Linked DNA regions of Homo sapiens: region 2 is linked to region 1. The links are contacts of gene promoters, found by promoter capture Hi-C in blood cells and fetal thymus (Javierre and others, 2016). All regions are on one chromosome and are shown on one strand. The core of a region is centred on a gene start or on the middle of the fragment in contact, and the rest is flanking DNA. Distances in the headings are between cores, read along the strand shown. Region 1 holds the start of ARL1 (ARF like GTPase 1). Region 2 overlaps WASHC3 (WASH complex subunit 3).

What was found. Contacts are between HindIII fragments. The CHiCAGO score rates a contact against its expected background, and 5 or more counts as called.
Region 2: a contact is called between a fragment that was not itself captured here and the fragment with the promoter of ARL1 in region 1, in 1 of 17 cell types (fetal thymus). The highest score is 6.4, in fetal thymus.

What each region holds. Positions count from the first base shown.
Region 1 is chr12:101,406,124-101,409,477 of GRCh38, reverse strand. ARL1 (ARF like GTPase 1) reads left to right here and starts at 1,706. Exons shown (of 6, transcript NM_001177.6): 1 at 1,706-1,836. The coding sequence starts at 1,833. RefSeq lists enhancers at 2,044-2,093, 2,174-2,223. The HindIII fragment of the contact is 1,758 bases long and covers 495-2,252 here.
Region 2 is chr12:102,058,187-102,061,540 of GRCh38, reverse strand. It overlaps WASHC3 (WASH complex subunit 3), which reads left to right. Exons shown (of 7, transcript NM_016053.4): 2 at 195-293. Among named protein-coding and RNA genes, the nearest start is that of WASHC3, 2.1 kb to the left of the region's middle. The HindIII fragment of the contact is 3,599 bases long and covers 1-3,049 here.

The sequences.
Region 1 (3,354 bases), core at 457-2,956:
ATGATCCCACTTATATGTAGAGTCAAAAAAAGTGGAACTCATAGAATGAGAGCAGAATAATGGCGGGATCTTGGCTCACTGCAACCTCTGCCTCCCAGGCTCAAGTGATCCTCCCATCTCAGCCTCTCAAGTAGCTGGGACTACAAGTGCCACTGTGCCTGGCTAATTTTTTTATTTTTTTGTAGAGATGGGGTCTCACTATGTTGCCTAGGCTGGACTCCAACTCCTGGGCTCAAGGGATCTGCCCGCCTCGGCCTCCCAAAGAGCTGGGATTACAGGCCTGAGCCACGACACCTGGCCGACCTTAAATATTCTTAGCACAAAATAAACATATACACACAAGCACACACGACTATGTGAGGTGATGGGTATGTTATCATTTCACAACATATACAACTATGAAAACATCACATGGTACACTGTAAATATATACAATTTTTATTTAAAGCTAGAAAAATTCTTTTAAAATAAACTAAAAAGGCAGTCCATAAGCTTCTGTTGAATGGATGAAAATCTCTACCATAAATAAAAACATAATATGCAAAGGTATTAATAAGATTTGGAAGAAAACCTAAGAGAGTATTAACAGTAGTGACTACTGGGGATCACCGAGATACAGGGTATTAGGGATGGAAGGTTTACTTTTCTCTTTTTTTTTTTGAGACGGAGTGTCGCTCTGTCGCCCAGGCTGGAGTGCAGTGGCACGATCTCGACTCACTGCAACTTCTGCCTCCTGAGTTCAAGTGATTCTCCTGCCTCAGCCTCCTGAGTAGCTGGGACTACAGGCGCCCGCCACCACGCCTGGTGAATTTTCTGTATTTTTAGTAGAGACGGGGTTTCACCGTGTTAGCCACGATGGTCTCGATCTCCTGACCTCGTGATCCGCCCGCCTCGGCCTCCCAAAGTGCTGGGATTACAGGCGTGAGCCACCGCGCCCGGCCGGAAGGTTCACTTTTCAATGGATCTTTGGGAAGTTTCAAAACATACATGCTCAACCTTTAAAAATTTCTCTAGGGGAAATCCCTTCTCCACATCCTATAGGTGTGCTTCCTTCTTCCTCTCCACACACTTCACTATCAAAACCTACATTACTTCCAACAGTCGACCCTCGAGGGAATAAGTCCCTGGTCCCCACGATCGGGACCAGCCAGTCCACACTGCCGACCCCTGAAAGGCGGTCTCAGCTGCTCGGTCAGCGAGAAAAAAAGCCGGCGAGGTCCTCGTCCTGCAGGCCACAGCGAAGACAAAAACCTCTGGTTACTGGCCTCAGGTGCAAGGCTGCTCCGCATTGGCAGCGCGGTACCATTCCTATTATTATTACGTAGTCTTGTTTCTTTCTGGGAGAAAGCACCTAGGGAGAGTTGGGCTGGCCCCGCAGGGCGCTCCGGGACACGCGTCCTCTGCAACGCCGCAGCCTGCGCCAGCGTTCGACCGGGACGACTCATCGAGGCCCGACTCGCATTTTCAGTTGTCAGATTCGCCACTTTTTGGTGTCAGAATTTAAAACAAAAATTCCAATTTCTCTATTTCAGAAGCTCTTTCTGTCCAGAAAAACACAAGCAGGAGAGACTTCAGGTTTTTGAATTATTCGTCTCTTCTGGCCTCCACGGTATCTACATCCAGTGAGCGGGGACCGTGAGTCGAAAGCGACGACGCGGATGCTCAGGCCACCGTTCCCGGCGCGCAGTCGCAGCTGACCCTCGCTCCCGCCCCCGCCTGGAGTCCGACGTGGAAGTTGCTGGCTGACTGGGCTTGCGAGGAAACCGCCTCGGAGCTGCAGCCGAAGGCCAAGGAATCACTGAAGATCGGCGAGGGAGGACAGGGGGTTCATCATGGGTGAGGGGTTCGAGAAGGGCACCTGGGCGCGCTCGAGGGAGCCGCGGCCGAGGGCTGGGGTGCAGAGGAGGAGAGGGGCCGGCCAGGATACCCTAGAGTAGCCAGCTCCTCAGGGGGCGGGTCGCGGAGGACTTGACTCACTTTGGATCTTCATCTGTAGGGGTGGATCCGGCCTCTCGCGTTCTCCTCCGTCCTCTCTCGGTTCCCCTTGATTCCTGCGGGGTCCAGGGACCCGGACAGCTTGGGGACGTCCGCAGAGCCTGGGTTCGAGTTCTTTACCCTTATCATGAAGTTTTCCCTCATCCCCAGCTCCACTTGCTGGGCAGAGTTGTTCTTGCGGAGGCTGGCAACGCGTCAGTCGCAGGTTCGCCGAGGTTTCTTGGTGAAAGATGAGCTGCGGCCCCAGAGTGGAAGCTTAATCATTCTCTTTACCAGGGGCGCTGGGACGGCGTCAGTTTGAAAAACCTGAGAGCAGGTGTTGCTTATGTTGTTTTATGGCCAGTTTGGCATTTGTCTGCTAATCTGCTGTAGCGTTTCATGTAATAATACGGGTATTTCTAGTCGGCAAATGAAACTTTATTCTTGGTTCTTGGCCCGCTGATTGAGGGAACTGCATTCTCACAAGCATCAGGTAACACCCTCGCCCCGCTAGAACCCAAGTGAGGGTGCACATTCTTTAACTCGTTTCTCACCCTCCAAATGAAGGTGCAGATTCTTTGGCTTGGTTAAATCCCTCCACAGTTTTCTGGGGAGCATACTTCTTGCTCCCAAGCATCACAGGCGCTGTCCTGTCTTCCATAACCGCCTTCAGTTTTGTTCCGCCTCTCTTCTACCTGTAAATGGTAGAAAGGACTTTGTCAAGTCACACCTATTCTGTTGAACTTTCCCAAGGTTCTCTAGCCCATGGTGTTGTTCATTTTTCAACTCGCAGCTCTTAGTTATGCCATGTCTTTGCCAAATAACAGTGTGGCATCACTTCTGATGTTAACTATTTTTTTTTGTATTAATGTAACTTGTTTTTAATCTTCTCTAATGGCTCTGGATGGGAAAAGGACTGTGCTTTTTATCCTACACAATACTTGGTGTACAGGAAGCTTTCTGGGAATATTTTGTGATGCATTGGATAGAGCTTTATTATTTTTAAAAGTGGGTTTTTTGTCAAAAATAGTTATTGTTTTCAGCTTTTTTCTCAATTTCTTGTACTAGCTATATTGCTTCGTGGAGAACTCTGATTGAAGTTGGTTATAGTGGTACTGCTGCTGTACAGTACTTTTCCTGTGCGAGGATTACATTGTCCCACTATCCTCCTTACTGGCCCCTTGGTTTTTAGGGGTAGTGAGGGGATCATGCTAAAATATTCCTATTCTGCTGATTAGAAAATGAGATTCCCAAAGGCCGCGGCCATATTTCTCTTATTATTTGGTTTATCTTCTGTGCCTGCATGACACAATAGTAACATAACTAAGGACATAGTAACATAACTAATTACTTGTTTGATATTGAATAATATATTTCATT
Region 2 (3,354 bases), core at 1-2,500, 650 kb before region 1:
CTCAAACTTTTGTGCACCTCTGTCATCTTCGGACACCCCACCCACAGCTTAGGAAACAAGTTAATGACTATTCCCAGTCCTTCAAGAAATTCATATCACACAGCAAAGTGCCTCGTGATTATGTCCAAATATGAAAAGATTTGCACTGTGTACGTTCCTCCTGTATGAACCATGTTTGTTTTTACGTAACACAGGTGCCAGCTATTCAACAGAAAAGAACGGTGGCTTTTCTAAACCAATTTGTGGTGCACACTGTACAGTTCCTCAACCGCTTTTCTACAGTTTGTGAGGAGGTAGGTCCGGTGATACTGGTTTATAGAGTCGCCTGGAAATCACCTTTCACTGCTGAGACTGACAAATGGAGTAAAACAAGAATTACAGTCTTTATTCATGTACCGTGACCTCTCATCACCCAATTGTGTTAACACATCTTAGGTTCTCTTTTACTCTGTTAAAATCAATCCTGCACCCCTCCTCTACTGAGTTAGTGTTCTAGAGGTCCCTGTGAGATAGGTCAGTCAGGCTTATTGCGATTAAAGGGAACAATAGGAAATCTAATTTTTTTTTTTTTTTTTTTTTTTTTTGTGAGACAGGGTCTCACTCTGTCACCCAAGCTACAGTGCAGTGGCGCGATCTCGGCTCACTGCAACCTCCACCTCCCGGGTTCAAGCGATTCTCCTGCCTCAGCCTCCTGAGTAGCTGGGATTACAGGCATGCGCCACCATGCCTGGCTAATTTTTTATATTTAGTAGAAACGGGGTTCCAACATGTTGATCAAGCTGGTCTCGAATTCCTGACCTTGGGCGATCCACTAGCCTCGGCCTCCCAAAGTGCTGGGATTACAGGCGTGAGCCACCGCGCCCGGCTTCTAAAATTTCACAGTTGAAAACAGTTTTTATTTTGCAATTTGTCATTCGTTCCCGTACCCCAAAACCACATTGTTTAAATTTATTTTACATTCTGGATCTAAAAGATGGCTAGAGGAGATAGCCTAGAAACATAACTTTGGCATCAAATATGATTATAGAAATGAAAATATTTTCTGCAAATGACTTGTGATGTAAGGATTAAGTACCCAACTAGGGATTAGGTACCAGAACTGGCACAGCAGTGCGCACCTGTAATCCCAGCTACTCGGGAGGCAGAGGCAGGAGGATCACTTGCGCCCGGGAATTTGAGACAAGACTGGACAACAGAGAAACTCAGTGTTTTGTTTTTGTTTTTGTTTTAAAAAAGAGGATTAGGTACTAGATCCAGGATCCAGGGAATCCCTGTCTTTTAAAAAGCCAAAAGAGGATGGGGAAGACAATGGGAACCATGGGTTGAAATTGCATTTAAGGAAAGAGCAAAGTAAATTATGGGACTTAGATATTCACAAGTAAGTCTGTTGAACATTCTGTCTTATGTAAGGTATAGCCTTAGCAATTAGAGTTTTTGTTAAGTGTGTTACTACTATTAATAAAAATTGCATGGAGATGGGAAAACTATTTTTTACTTGTATGAAATTCCAGTTATTGTTTTGTCTAATTATCAACATTTCTTCTGCCTTCTAAGACAAAGTAAAATATAGTAATTGGTAGAGTAAGGGGCTTAATTCAATTTAGTTTTATATGTTAATGGCCAGAAACTAGGTGCTTGCTTCCAGTCAGTTTTATTTCGTTCCTACTATCTCTCTAAATAATTTAGGATATAAAATTGACTGAATAAAAACCAGTAAGCCAAGGTTTTCACCCTTCGATTTTTATACCAGGGCAAGATGGAGAAGTATCTGGAAAGGGACTGTCCCAGGATTACTAGCAGAAAGAAGCAAATACTCTTATCCCCATAGCCCTTATCATCAAGCTGAAAAATAAAGAACAAAGCAACAAGTAAACACACCTATGAAAGCAACTTGTTTGAGCTGTCCTGAAACAGGGATAGCCCTTCACCTTTGTAGTGCCTAATGGTTCTTGAATGAGAGCTGTTTACTGACAACTAGATCAAAGAAAACAATAGTCATCTCATTTATTGATAGATTATGATCAAAGCCTCATGAGTCACTCTTTAACCTCCTCCTGTTCCTGTCTCAACTTCTCTGCAGCTGTTCTGGCTGTATCTGTATTCTAGTACTTCTTTGAACTCTAGAGAAAAGTTTGTTCATCAAAACCTCATGAAGTTTAAAGGTAGTCTATTGCCTTTTGTCCTTTTTCAAAAATCTTATTTCTTTATTTAAATTGACAGGTAAAAATTGTATTTTTATGATGTACAACATGATGTTTTGATATATGAATACATTGTGGAATGGCCAAACCAAGCTATTTAACATAAGCAATGCCTCACGTACTTACTTTTTTTTGTGGTGAGCACACTTAAAATCGCCTCTCTTAGCAATTTTCAATACAATATATTGTTATTAACAGCAGTCACCATGACATGTAGGAGATCTCTTGAACTTATTCCTCCTGCCTAACTGAAATTTTGTATCCTTTAACCGCATCTCCCCAATCCTCTTAACCCCAAGCCCCTGCTAACCACCATTCTACTCAATATTTCTATGAGTTGTACTTTTTTATCCTCCATATATAAGTGAGATCATTCAGTATCTGTCTCTGTTTGACTGGCTTATTTCATTTAACACAATGTCTTCCAGTTCATTTATGTTGTCACAAATGACAGGATTTCATTCTTTTTTAAGGCTAAATAGTATTCCATTGTGTATATATACCACTTTTTTTAATCCATTCATCCATTGATGGACACTTTTGATTCCGTATCTTGGCTATTGTGAATAATGTTGCAGTGAACTTTCAAGTACAGATGTCTCTTGAATGTACTAATTTTACATCCTTTGGATATATACCCAGAAGTGGGATTGCTGGATCATATAGTAGTTCTATTTTTAATTTTTTGTGGAACCTCTGTACTATTTTCTATAATAGCTGTACTAATTTACATTCCCACCAACAGTGTACAGAGGTTCCCTTCATCACATATATGGTTTCCAAATATAGTCTCCCATTCCATAGGTTCTCTTCACTCTATTGATGGTTTCGTTGGCTGTGCAAAAGCTTCGTAGTCTTTTAAAATAATTTTTAAAAAATAATTTAAAATCCAGATTCTACAAACTTCTTAGTGTGATGTAATCCCATTTATTTATTTTTGGTTTTGTTACCAGTGCTTTGGGGTTTATATCCAAAAAAAGTCATTGCCCAGACCAATGTCGTGCAACTTTCCCCTTATGTTTTCTTCTAGTAGTTTTACAGTTTCAGGTCTTACATTTAAATCTTGAATCCTTTTCGTGTTAAATTTTTTTATATGGTAAAGGATGAGGGTCTAATTTCATTCTGCATGTGGATATCCAGTTGTCCCAAAATG